Linked DNA regions of Homo sapiens: all the other regions are linked to region 1. The links are contacts of gene promoters, found by promoter capture Hi-C in human tissues and cell types (Jung and others, 2019). All regions are on one chromosome and are shown on one strand. The core of a region is centred on a gene start or on the middle of the fragment in contact, and the rest is flanking DNA. Distances in the headings are between cores, read along the strand shown. Region 1 holds the start of TEX14 (testis expressed 14, intercellular bridge forming factor). Region 2 overlaps SEPTIN4 (septin 4). Region 3 overlaps PPM1E (protein phosphatase, Mg2+/Mn2+ dependent 1E). Region 4 overlaps PPM1E (protein phosphatase, Mg2+/Mn2+ dependent 1E).

The links. The method cuts DNA at HindIII sites, captures the fragments that hold promoters and counts their contacts. A contact is called where the count stands out against the background at its distance.
Region 2: a fragment that was not itself captured here is called in contact with the fragment with the promoter of TEX14 in region 1 in 10 of the 25 tissues and cell types used here (H1 embryonic stem cells, IMR-90 fibroblasts, aorta and 7 more).
Region 3: a fragment that was not itself captured here is called in contact with the fragment with the promoter of TEX14 in region 1 in 2 of the 25 tissues and cell types used here (hippocampus and spleen).
Region 4: a fragment that was not itself captured here is called in contact with the fragment with the promoter of TEX14 in region 1 in 1 of the 25 tissues and cell types used here (psoas muscle).

What each region holds. Positions count from the first base shown.
Region 1 is chr17:58,689,887-58,693,298 of GRCh38, reverse strand. TEX14 (testis expressed 14, intercellular bridge forming factor) reads left to right here and starts at 1,254. Exons shown (of 32, transcript NM_031272.5): 1 at 1,254-1,360. It overlaps IGBP1C (IGBP1 family member C), which reads left to right and starts at 1,254. Exons shown (of 2, transcript NM_001395966.1): 1 at 1,254-1,360. RAD51C (RAD51 paralog C) reads right to left here and starts at 697. Exons shown (of 9, transcript NM_058216.3): 1 at 511-697. The coding sequence starts at 655. RefSeq lists enhancers at 340-509, 840-939. The HindIII fragment of the contact is 12,262 bases long and covers 1-3,412 here.
Region 2 is chr17:58,530,158-58,533,319 of GRCh38, reverse strand. The region is part of intron 3 of SEPTIN4 (septin 4); the gene reads left to right. The region is part of intron 2 of SEPTIN4-AS1 (SEPTIN4 antisense RNA 1); the gene reads right to left. Among named protein-coding and RNA genes, the nearest start is that of SEPTIN4-AS1, 12 kb to the right of the region's middle. RefSeq lists a silencer at 1,059-1,508 and an enhancer at 1,606-2,106. The HindIII fragment of the contact is 6,319 bases long and covers 1-3,162 here.
Region 3 is chr17:58,903,435-58,906,817 of GRCh38, reverse strand. The region is part of intron 1 of PPM1E (protein phosphatase, Mg2+/Mn2+ dependent 1E); the gene reads right to left. Among named protein-coding and RNA genes, the nearest start is that of PPM1E, 150 kb to the right of the region's middle. The HindIII fragment of the contact is 5,961 bases long and covers 1-3,383 here.
Region 4 is chr17:58,820,917-58,824,214 of GRCh38, reverse strand. All of the region lies in intron 1 of PPM1E (protein phosphatase, Mg2+/Mn2+ dependent 1E), which reads right to left. Among named protein-coding and RNA genes, the nearest start is that of PPM1E, 67 kb to the right of the region's middle. The HindIII fragment of the contact is 4,168 bases long and covers 1-3,298 here.

The DNA.
Region 1 (3,412 bases), core at 5-2,504:
TCTATGCTTCCTCAAGATTCCGGGGATTCTACTCTCTTTCTCATTCTTAGTGTCTCTAGTCCTACACAAAATCCTGCATTTCTGAAATTTAACCCTTACCCCTTGGATCTTGGAACAGCAAAAATTAGACAACCAATTCTGACTCCAGTATTTCCTAACCCAGTTAGCATGAAAAGTTACCTAAGCTCCCCAAGATATCAGTTCTCTCATCCATATACTGAATATAATAATCTACGTAAGCGGGTTGAGGGTTAAATGAGACAATCCTCAAAGCATTCAGCAGGCATTGCCAGAGGAAAAGCAATTAGTAAATGTTTTCACGACCACAGTTCTCCTAACCATTCAGACAACTTGTAAGTGGAGTCGAGGAGCTCTTTCACGCTGTAAACATGGACGTGGGAGGAAGCAGAATCTAACGGAGACTGGGCTGAAGGCCGAGGCGAGAGAACGAAGACTGAGGCGGCGCTGACGGCGGCCGGTGTGCCTCAGCTTGCCATCAGGAGTCGTTACCTTTGCTAAGCTCGGAGGGTTTCACCTCTAGGAGTTCCTCAGCAGTCTGGAACCCCGCAGACACCAGCTTCACCCGCACCGCTGGAGACAGCGGGAAACTCACCAAATCCCGCTGCATTTCAAAGCGGAACGTCTTCCCGCGCATCGCAGGCTCACCTGCTAACCCCGGAGCAGCCAAACTCCGCACGCCCTCGCTGGGGCGTGCGGCGTGACGTCAGACGTAAAGCGGAAGGGGCCGGCTCTGCGGCCTGGCCGCACGGGGCTCCGGGCCTTGCAGCTTTGCGCAGTCTTGTAAATTTTCACACTTATGCACCATTCCGTTTTGATTCCCCAAAATCCCATTTAGAGATTCCTCATCAAATGTACACCCTGACTGTAAAACGATGGACGGAGACCATAGGACGGAGAGCCAGGCCCAGTGGGTTCTCCACGCCACATTTCCTTGCCTCCACCGTGGCCTGTTAGGTGAAGCCTCAGAGTCATTAATAGGAATGATCTCGAGTGGGAGTAGTGAGCGTAACGGGCACACACTAGCCAGTTACCATTATTTTGGTGTGAAAAGCTCAGGGAACAATCATTAGAATTAATCTGCGTGCTCTTTGTAGAGTTGCAGTCTCTTGGCTCTTCCCGCTGACCGTCCCCCTTTTCTGACCCCCCCCCCCCGCAACGACCACATTGCTTTTCCCGCCCTCGCGAGGGATTGTGGGCCAGCCCCCAACGGCCGCTGGGAGGGATCAGTCCGCATTCCCCGCACCCACCCACGTCTTCCCGGGAGTCGTATCCCGAGCATGGAGGTTACTGAGACCGTTATTTCTTCATGGCCTGCCTAGCTTAAGCAGTAGCTGGAAAAGTAAGCAACTAATGTCCCCATTAGTGTGTCTGGGCTCCTGGGGTCCTGAGAAGGAGGGGCTGGGCTACACAAGAGCTCCTTTTGTGGTACAGACTTGGGAAGGGGTGTTCAAGCAGTGGTAGTGACCGCCTCTAAATTACAGAACTTCGGGGAGGAAGGCAAGCAGTTTAGAAGGTGGTTTATGAGTTCCTTCCTTGCCTAGGTGAGTGTAACTTATTTAGCAGGGGGTAACTTATTCCCTACCTATTGGCGATTTTTTTTTTTTTTTTTTTGAGACAGAGTCTCACTGTGTTGCCCATGATGGAGTGCAGTGGCACGATGTCGGCTCACTGCAACCTTCGCCTCCCGGGTTCAAGTGAGTCTCCTGCCTCAGCCTCTTGAGTACCTGGGATTACAGGCGCACGCCACCATGCCCGGCTAATTTTTGTATTATTATTAGAGAAGGGGTTTCACCATATTGGCCAGGCTGGTCTCGAACTCCTGACCTCGTGATCCGCCTGCCTCGGCCTCCCAAAATGCTGGGAGTACAGGCGTGAGCCACCGCGCCCGGCCCTGTTGGCAATGATTCTTAGTCTTGACTTTTCTTCCCAGCTTAGAAGAACTTTCTAAATATTGCAAATCAGAGCCCTCTACATACTTAGATCTAAAAAAGGAAACAACGTATGTTGAGCACTTTAGCAAATCCCACACATTTCAAATGGCCATAGCCATGCCAAAAGGAAGATAAGGACATGGAAGCTCAGCATATAGTTTAATATCAATTCTGATAAAAGAAAAAAAGCTGGCCGGGCGCAGTGGCTCGTGCCTGTAATCCCAGCACTTTGGGAGGTCGAGGCAGGTGGATCTCTTTGAGCTCATGAGTTTGAGACCAGCCTCGACAACATGGCGAAACACTGTCTGTACCAAAAGTACAAAAAATTAGCCGGGCATGGTGGCATGCACCGGTCGTCCCAGCTACTCAGAAGTCTGTGGTGGGAGGATCCCTTCAGCCTGGGAGTGAGCTATGATCACGCCACTGCACTCCAGCTTGGGTGATAGAGTGAAACCCTGTCTCAAACAAACAAAACACCTCAGCACAGTTTTCTTAAAGCCAAGATTCAAACCTAGCATCCTTTTTACTACCCCGAGCTATTAAGATTTTGAGTCCCTACTGGCGGGGAGAATACGAGAAGCATTTATACCCCATTTGGTAGGTCAAAGAAAGTCTTGTAGGACTGGCCAAAATGTGGTTGGCCACTCAACCCATTGCTTAACTTCTAATATGGTCTATATTTGAGCGCTCAGTGGATGCATAAATACTATCTTCAGGGAGATTTCATGCTTATGCTTATAAAGCACCCAGATTCTTGGGTGAAGAAAAAACATGGTATTACCACATTCAACAATAAGTCTTCAGTTAGTTTGGTCAAACTCAGTGGAATCAGTCGTGTTTAGAATTTCTTTCGTTGACAGTGGAAAGTTCAAAACTACTTTGGCCTGGCACAGTGGCTTAAGCCTGGAATCCAAGCACTTTGGGAGGCCAAAGAGGGCACATCGCTTGATCTCAGGAGTTTGAGACCAGCCTGGGCAACAGGGCAAAACCCCATCTCTACAAAAAATACAAAAATTAGCCAGCATGGTGGTACATGCCTCTAGTCCCAGCTACTTGGGAGGCTGAGGTGGGAGAACCAATTGAGCCCGGGAGGTTGAGGTTGCAGTGAGCTGAGATTGCGTAACTCCACTCCAATCTGGGCGACAGAGCGAGACTCCATCTCAAAAACAAAACAAAGCAAAATAAAAAAAACAAAAAAACCCCCACTCAACTCTATCTATAGCTGTATAATTTAAGTGCTATTAATATCTTCTGCAGATCACAAGGTCAGGAGATCGAGACCATCCTGGCTAACATGATGAAACCCCGTCTCTACTAAAAATACAAAAAATTAGCTGGGTGCGGTGGTGGGCGCCTGTAGTCCCAGCTACTCGGGAGGCTGAGGCAGGAGAATTGCATGAACCCAGGAGGCGGAGCTTGCAGTGAGCCTAGATCACGCCACCACATTCCAGCCTGGGCGA
Region 2 (3,162 bases), core at 530-3,029, 160 kb after region 1:
CCACCCAGCTAGGAAGGTTTCTCCTCAACCGGCTGGCTCATGAACACCCTGCCATCTTCCAGTCCACCAGTGCCAAACAGCCAATAACATCTCCAGTAGCAGCCCCATTGTTTTTCTCAGCCTGATCTTACCTGCTGCCCCAGGCCCTCTTCCCTCCCCTGGCTGAGTTCTGACTGGTCCCAACCAGTGCTACTGGTTCACAGGTCAGACTGAAATACAGCAGGCAGGCCTCTGGCACTTCTACCAACAGAGAGGGCCGTGCCTGTGGGTCTCAGTTTTGTCCAGAGTGTATTCAGGCAGAAGCCAGTCAGCCTGCCATTGAGAGAGGGGTCTTGCGGGTCAGGAAGGGACATGCTTCTGGAAACTTCCACAGGAGCCTGACCAGCTCAGACCCTACTTAGCTCAGGGAATCCCTCACCAACACCCCACTCACCAAGCATCTGCCTTCCCCTAGCTGCTGCTCTGACCTTTCTGAGCCTCTAATGCCTCTAAAGCTTCTGGGGCATCTGTCCCCTCGGCATCTCACCTGCTTGTCAGAGGAAGAGTGGCCCAGCTGGGCCTGGGTCACGCCTGGGTTGGCCTCTCCTGAGGCCCTCCCCACTGTCCTCAGCCACAGGCAAGGCTACACCGCCCTGTTAAAGCCACTCAGCCTCTCCCTTCTATCCTTCCAGCAGATGATCCCTGGATAATTTGTGCAGCAAATCCTCTTTAATCTGTAATCTGGGGTACTGCATGAAGGGAACCTGCCTCTAACCTGCCCCTTCACAGCTCGGGTGGAGGTGGAGAATATCTGACATTCCCCTTTAGGAGGTGTAGTGATCAGTAACTTGGGCATCAGCCGGATTCACTTTGTGAAAACCTTGTTGAATCCCTGCGGTAACTAATGGTTTCTCTCCAACTCATGCAGCAACTCCCCCTCCCTTCCAAAGGCGTCTCCTTCTGGGGATGTCAGGTGGGCCGTTCCTTTTTCTTTGGGAACTGGCTCAAGCCCCCGCGGTGCTTCTGGAGCTGAGTAAAAAAGAGCCAGGTGTCCAGTGCAGCCCGGGGACGAGGAGCTGAGGCTCCCCGCTCTGTCCTGGGTGACTCTGCATACTCTGCGCATCCGGGGGTCGCGGGCTGCGAGGCCGGCCCCCAGCTGGGCACCCCGACCCACTTCGCGCCGGCACCGCTAGCAGCTGAGGTACAGGCCCCGCCCCGGGGCCGACTCGCTCCGCCCCCGCCGCCGGGCCCCTCCCGCAGCGGTCCGCACTCGGGGAGGCGGGAGGGTGACGGCGGTGCTGCGAGGTCGGCGCGCAGCTCCGCCGCGGGTCGCTCGGGCGCTGTCCAGGCGGAGCCGGCCCCGCCCGGGCTGCAGCCATGGTAAGGCAGGCAGGCAGGCGGGCGGGCGCGGGGCAGGGCTGGGGTGCGCAGGGCCGGTCGCTCCCGGGCGGCTGCAAGGGGACCCGCGGCACCGCAGCCGCGGCTGTGCAGGGTGGGAGGCGCCGTCGCCGGCCCCGGGCACAGGCTGGCACTGCTGCCGGGCGGCGGTGCGTCGCTGCTCCCAAGTTTTTCCCTCTGAGCAGCCACGGAGTGGGCGCCAACCCCTGGGTGATGCCTGCGCTCTAGGACGAAGGGGTGGGTCCGTGCTGAGGGAGGTGCCCGCTGGTGGAGACGCGCTTGTTGGGCTGGGGAAGGCGCATCAGTAATAAGCGGAGGTGAGGGTCCCCATCCTCGCCTGGGTCAGCTTTTACCTGAGTAACCCCTCCTCACCCACCTACCCTGGGCACAGGGGCCAGTACCAACTTCATTTGGAAAACGCAGAGGAGGCCCACAAACACTGCCTGCCTCACCAGGAGGGATGGTAAGACGCTTGGCCCCTCCTTCCCTCAGCCTGACAAGGGGCAGTCCCTGGCCCTTTCCCAAAGGGACCCCAGAGAGGGGGAGGCCCAGCCCACCATCCTGCCCGGTGGGATTAGCTATATCCTTCTGCCCCTGGGACAGGAACCATGGGAAAGCTTCCTCCTGCTGCATCTACCCGCTCCCTCCCCACCAGCCAGGTCCCTCTGCAGTGTGTGGGGGTGGGGGCACCCATCCCTGCCACCTGCCTGTAGTGGGAAGAGAAACAGTAACCCCAGCCAGCCTCCCTGGAGGTGCCCAGGTAGGAAGTTTTTGATGCTTGGCTCTGAAGATGTAATCTCTTCTCCTGACATTGTTGCCAGAGCCTGCCACAAATAACGTAAGGGTGTCAGGACCTCTAGGCCACACACCGTCCTCTCCTCTCAGTCTGGAAGCCCCACAGCCTTTGCCCTCTGCATTGGGGGACACAAACTGTTTACAGCAGGGGGGGATCACTGACCAGCCTGTGGGGCGGGATGTTGGCTGTGGGCAGCCTCCAGAAGGGAGCTCCCTGGGCCCCCTGGGATCAGAAGCTTTCAGGTTTGGTAGGGCCAACCTTTTGGGCTCTTGTCTCTCAAGCTGTGTCCAGGCAGAGGCCCAAGCCTTGGCCAGGAAGTCTTGGTGACCCTGTGACCTTCCCCCAACGGGGGTTCCTGAGAGAGGCCTGTCCTTATTCCTTTCCCCCACTTCTCCCCACATGGTGGATGGATGGACTGATTGTTCTAGGGATGGAAGCCTAGGGAAGCACTGATTGTCCCCAGTGCCAAGCCCAGCAGGGGCTAGAGGGGCTTTTTCTGCCACACACTAACTTCAGTTCAGCTGAGGTCTTGGTGCTTTCGGCTTGTCCGAGGCCACACTGTTCTTCTCTAATTAAAGACACACCCCCCTCCACCCCAACCACCATCACCAAAGTCCCCATCCTCAGGCCCCTGCCCTCAAGCCAGCCAAGTTCTTAGGCTGACTGGTTCAGATCAGACTCCTCTATGAGGGTCTCTTTGTCAAAGGAGGTCAGTGTCCTAGCTGCTTTGGGAATCAGTGGGGGAGACCCCCCCAACCCAGCTATGCCAGGGGGTTTAAATTTACATGTGAAAAGAATGACAGGCCAACATTAATGACCATCCTGTGACTTGGGATGCACCTTCTCTTCTCAGGTTCAAAGCAGCTTAAGGTATCTATCATCTGGGAGTGCTTTCTCTCCCCAGCCTCGCTGGGAGGCAAGGAAGGGCCATTCACAACTGAACATTAAGGTCCTCAAATTAAGACACTATCCAGACTCACAAAAGATGT
Region 3 (3,383 bases), core at 777-3,276, 210 kb before region 1:
TTGGTAACATTAAGTGCATATATTAGAAAAAAAATTTAAAATAAATAATTTAAGTTTCCACATTAGGAAACTGGAAAAAGAAGAGCAAATTAAATCCAAAGAAAGCAGAAGGAAATAAATAATAAAAATTAATATACCTACTATGTACCCATAAAAATTAAAAATTAAAAAAGGGAAATGGGTTGGGCACAGTGGCTCATACCTGTAATCCCAGCACTTTGAGAGGCTGAGGTGGACAGATCACTTGAGCCCAGGAGTTTAAGACCAGAGTGGCCAACATGGCAAAACCCTGTCTATACAAAAAATACAAAAATTAGCTGGACAGGTGGCACACGCCTGTAGTCCCAGGTACTCGGGAGGTTGAGGTGGGAGGATCACTTGAGCCTGGGAGATTGAAGCTGCAGTGAGCCCTGGCAGTGCCACTGCACTCCAGCCTGGGTGAAGGAAATAATAAAAATTAGAGCAGAAATCAATGAAATTGAAAATAGGAAATCAATAGAGAAAATCAATGGAACTAAAAGCTGGTTCTTTGAAAGAGTCAATAAAATCGATAAGCCTCTAGCCAGGCTAACTAAGAAAAAAGGAGAGGATGCAAGTTACTAATGTCAGGAATGAAAGATGGGACATCACTATAGATCCCATGGACATTGAAAGGATAATAAAAGTAATACTATGAAGAACTCTATGCATTACATTAATTGATTTTTAATTTGATACAAATTAATTGATACAAATTTGATAACTTAGATGAAATGAATCAATTCCTTGCAAGACTCAATCTGCCAAGAATTAAACTATCTGAATAGGTCTAAATTGATTACAGAAATTGAATCAATAATTAATAACCTTTCAAAATACAAAGCACCAAAACCAGATAGGTTCACTGGAGAATTCTACCAAATATTTAAGGCATAAATTATACTATTTCTCTACAGTCTCTTTCAGAAGATAGAAGTCATTCTCTGAGACTACCATTACTCATTCTATTAATAAAAATTAATACACCTATTAATTAATTAGTGCACCTATTAACCCACAAAAATTAAAAATTAAAAAAGGGAAATAGGCTGGGTGCAGTGGCTAACTTAACTCATTCTATGAGACTACCATTACTTTAATGCCCAACAAAGATGTTACAAGAAAAAAAAACTACAGACCAATATCTTCAGGAACAAAGGGGCAATAATCTTCATCTAAATATTAGCAAACCAAATCCAACAATGTATAAAAAGATTTATACATTACAAAAAAGTGGGATTTATCTCAGATATGCAAAATTGATGCATCTGATGATCATTAAAAATCAATTAATGTAATCTATCATATCAAAAGGCTAAAAAAGAAAAATTACATGATCATATCAAAAGATGCAGAAAAAGCACTTGATAAAATTCAACACGCATTAATGATAAAAACTCTCAGTTAACCAGAAATAGAGGGCAACTTCTTTAACTTAATAAAGAATATCTATAAAAGACTTACAGCTAGCTTCACACTTAATGGTAAACAACTAGAAGCTTTCCTACTAAGATCAGGAACAAGGCAAGGATGTTCCCTCTCACTACTCTTTTTCAACATTGTACTTGAAGTCCTAGTTAATGCAATAAGACAAGAAAAAGAATTAAAAGGTATACTGATTAGGAAGGAAGAAATAAAACTGTAACATGTAGAAAACTAACATAACTATGTAGAAAATCTGAAAGAGTCAAAAAACCCCTAGAACCAACAAGGAATTATACAAAACTATAGGAGAAATTGTTTGTTGTTTTTTGTTGTTTGTTTGTTTGTTTTTTGAGATGGAGTTTCACTCTTGTTGCCCAGGCTGGAGTGCAATGGCACGACCTCGGCTCACCAAAACCTCCGCCTTCTGGGTTCAAGCGATTCTCCTGCCTCAGCCTCCCCAAGTAGCTGGGATTACAGGCATACACCACCACATCCGGCTGATTTTTTTTTTTTTTTTTGTATTTTTAGTAGAGATGGGGTTTCTCCATGTTGGTCACCAGCAATGAATAAGTGGGGAATGTGAAATTAAAACTACAACACCATTTACATTAGCACCCCCCAAAATGAAACATGTAGGTATAAATCTAACAAAATATGTATGAGATCTAATATAAGGAAAACTACAAAACTCTGTTGAAAGAAATCAAAGAACTAAATTAATGGAGAAATATTTCATATTCATGGATTGGGAGACTCAATATTGTCAAGATGCCAGTTATTCCCATTTGATCTATAAATTCAACACAACCCCAACCAAAATCCCAGCAAGTTATTTTGCAGATATCTTCTAGATAAGCAGATAATTTAAGACAAGGATAGTCATTCGCCTATGAGAAGAACTTTCAAATTCTTTGCAGAATCAAGTAGGTAGAAAGACAATCTTATAAATCAGATTCAAAGTGTAAAAATATCAGGCAGTATTATAAAAATTATTACCCTTGTTAGAAATCATTTCCCCAGCCTCTGATCACTTATACATTAAGAATGTACTACTATACCACTTATTCTGTGTAACTGAGCAAGATACTTAACCTCTTTCAACTCAAATTTCTTCATCTGGCAAATAAAGATGATAGTACATGCCAACCCTGCTAAGCAAAATATTATATAAGAAAGACTTCAACTTCTTTTCTTCAACTTCTATACTTTCATAGTACCTTTTTTATTTATTATGTCATAATTATAAATTTATTCACACATTTTTCACTATCTGCAAGAGGGTAGTGGACATGTATTCAACTTTCTTCTCTATCTCAGCTTTCAGAATAGTATAGATCTCAATAATAATTTCTGGCTCTTTTTGAAATTATTTCAAATTCAAGTAAAAGTAATAACACTATCAGATCTGGTTTCATTATAGATCTGCGTTACTTTGCTATTCTTTAGTGTCTATTGAAAGTCCTCCACAATTATATATTTATTTGGAAAATATTAGATTACTTTTCTAATAATTGGCAGGGGAAGAGGGGAGAACCCTAGGTAACAAAGCTTTACTCTGTTTTTTACAACAAGAAGTAAACATAATATCCAAGGTGCCCATTTTATTAGTGAGTTCTCAATTATTCACAAATACAGATTAATCTATAATTTTCTAGGCCCTCTTCCTTCTAAGAACTCAATAAAAACTGAACAACCCAGAAGCTGGGATTAGGCAGAAAAGTGGTACGTTTATGTCTGTGGGTGTGCATGTCAGTGTGGCAGGACAATATAAGATTTTAATTTTCATTTGTTCTCCACTTCTTTTTCCCTTTCCTCATTTAAACAGGTAACCAGGTCTTCAGGTTCCATTATTTACAGAAGATCTGAGTTACAGACTGGAAAGCAGAAGTTATTTGTAGATAATCTGCCTTCAAACTTTCATTTTCTGGAAGCTTGAGATA
Region 4 (3,298 bases), core at 577-3,076, 130 kb before region 1:
TTGACTGATAATTGTTATGTACATTTTCTACCTTGAATTGGAGATATTCATCTTTGTGCTCATCTCCTTTCAAACCCTTTCTCCAACCCTTTCTCTAACTCATGTTTTAAAAACATATATAATATTCTACACATCCATATATTTGGGGATAGTCCATTAAATTTGTATTAAATTTAAATTTTGCAGGCCGGGCACGGTGCCTCACACCTGTAATTCCAGCACTTTGGGAGGCTGAGGCAGGCAGATCACGAGGTCAGGAGATTGAGATCATCCTGGCTAACGTGGTGAAACCCTGTCTCTACTAAAAATACAAAAAATTAGCCGGGTGTGGTGGCGGGTACCTGTAGTTCCAGCTACTCGGGAGGCTGAGGCAGGAGAATGGTGTGAACCTGGGAGGCAGAGCTTGCAGTGAGCTGAGATCGAGCCACTGCACTCCAGCCTGGGCAACAGAGCAAGACTCTGTCTCAAAAAATAAATAAATAAATAAATTTAAATTCTGCACCTCGTCCATATTTAATCTAATCAATGCTTAATTTTGCAGATGTTTTTCTTTATTTTTTATCTTTCCTGTGGTGCAGATTAATTTTGCAGACATTTTACAATAATTTAAAAATATACAAAACACAATTTCCTAAGGGAAAAAAAATAACTGAACAACAGGTGATTCAGATAGCAGCCAGCAATGTTATTTTCAAAGAGTAACTATAGATGCATAAGATTCATTCTCCTATATTCATTACTGTCATATTTTGATATAAAACATATCTAATCATAAATAAGGTCTTTGCCTTTTCACCTAAATCTTTCAGAGAACAGCGTTATCACAATCCTGAGAAACCATTCCTGTGCCTAGAATTTCAAGTAAGTCTGTCTTTCATGCAAATACCCACATGATTCTTTTCCATTACTTTCATAGTTCCTTTCCTGCCCATTCCATTCCTTGAAAAATTTATGAGAAATGCCTACATGACAGAAATATGACCATTTCAGCCTCTCTTAAACTAGAAACAATTCTTAGGTGATAGAAATGAAAACCTCATTTTTATACGTTGTCTTTATAGTTTAAAAAGTGCTTACATACACTATAATGTCTGACTCTACAATAATGCTTCCACTTGGATAAAATAGGTATTATTTTCATTTTGAAAATTAAAAAAAAAATGCTCAGAAGGGCTTGCCCCAGGTCAAACAAGAAGAGCAATAATCATCGTATAAGTCAGCTCTCTTGACATATTTTTTTCACAATACTTTGCTGCCTCACTTACATATGACAAAGAGGAGAGAATGGCGCAACTGACTTTGGCAGGCTTCAGTTGTCACAGACCCTGAACAACAGAATCTATTACAATCTATTCTCTCTCCAACAGCAAGTACTGGCAGTACGGTAAGACCTGACTGATAGCATAACTTTAATTATCAGCCAGAGGCTTAAACCTATGCTTGTTGTAATTAGAATTTCCCCACAGAAAAAAAGCATATCATCTATTCCAGAAAAAAACTACCTATTAAATCCTCATCTTTACATCTTCAATTCATGGCCAACCAGTGTTTAAAGCATGAATTATCTTAATAAGAGAGCAAGTTTACAAATGCCTATGGGCTACACGTTTGGCAATGTTACCCCGTTCTATTTTTAGTAAACACTTAATCCTAGTATAAGACCAGAACAGATGGGCAATTGAAACTGGCTCCAATCTTCCAACATTCTTCCTACTAGCTAACAATATAGCAAACACCTAGAGGTTCTAACCATAATTATCAGCTTAACCTATAACAGAATCAGAAGTCAGCTGGTATTCCCTCTTGTTTTGGAGAAAGATACTTGGGACTCGTCAAAAAATAAATAAATAAATAAATAAATAAATAAATAAATAAATAAATAAATAAAAATAAATTCAGACTTAGCAACTTTACTTCTAAGTAAACAACCCACACTGCTGCTCATATTTTATAATGCTTGCTCCTAGTTGCATATGTACTTCATTCAATGCTATGCTTCAGTGCCTCCTTTTCTTTGGTCTCTTTTCACTTTTTTTGCTGTTGTTACTTGCTCAACTCCTTTACTACATTCTTCTTTCCATCTCTTGTTTTAGTAATCCTCATCACTCTCTGGGCTATCTTGGTCTTCTTCCTGCCAGATTCCTTCCTGAAGCTGCCAGCTCCCACTTAAAGCTTTGTGTTCATCAACAACTTATGCTTTAAAACGATATTTTGCTTTTTCCTTGATCGCCTTTCAAAATCTCATTACCTTGATATATCTCAGTTAGTTATTAGAAAAGCTAGTTGACTAAACTAGTTTATACTAAAAGCTGCATAAGCGTTGAATAATTGGTCATTTTAGACAAGATGGGGGAGAAATTTGGGAAAGGACAGTTTTCATACTTTCAGCCCACTCCCCTCCCAGCCTTTACCAAATAACAATGGAGTTCTAAAGCCCAGGAAAACCCTTTCTCCAACCCCTGGAGTCTCAAAATAAGTTTCTTCATTGTTAAAGAAGACTTCGGTTATTACTCTATTTCCATCTCTTCTACTAGTTTTCCAAGGTCCTTGCTAACCAGTATCCGCTTCTCAATCAAAGGAATTCTTTCTATTATATCGGGCAAGTTCCTGCCCTGCCGTAAGCTAACTTAAACACCCAGAGTGTGTGTATCTATACCAAAGAATGTGTCATTATTCTGATCTCTGAGTGGCGCCTATTGGAAAAGGGGCTTGAATGTAGGAATCTTCATATTGAAATGAAAAAACTTTCTTCTTTTTCTAGTAAACTCCTATCTCCTCTCCAGATAATTAGAAAAATACAAAGCTGGCCGGGCGCGGTGGCTCACGCCTGTAATCCCAGCACTTTGGGAGGCCGAGACGGGCGGATCAGAAGGTCAGGAGATCGAGACCATCCTGGCTAACACGGTGAAACCCCGTCTCTACTAAAAATACAAAAAATTAGCCAGGCGTGTTGGCGGGCGCCTGTAGTCCCAGCTACTCAGGAGGCTGAGGCAGGAGAATGGCGTGAACCCGGGAGGCAGAGCTTGCAGTGAGCCAAGATTGCACCACTGCACTCCAGCCTGGGTGACAAAGCGAGACTCCATCTCCAAAAACCAAAAACAAACAAACAAACAAACAAACAAAAATACAAAGCTAAGCTGAAGGTTTATAATATTAATTATATATAATAATAATCACTTATGTGAACAACTTATCACTTATACTTTAAACATCATACATTATAATTGGAATTAAGCCCATGATTAAATGTTTCAGATCAAGTTATGTTTTACTTTATTATAACAGAATTTGGTATCTA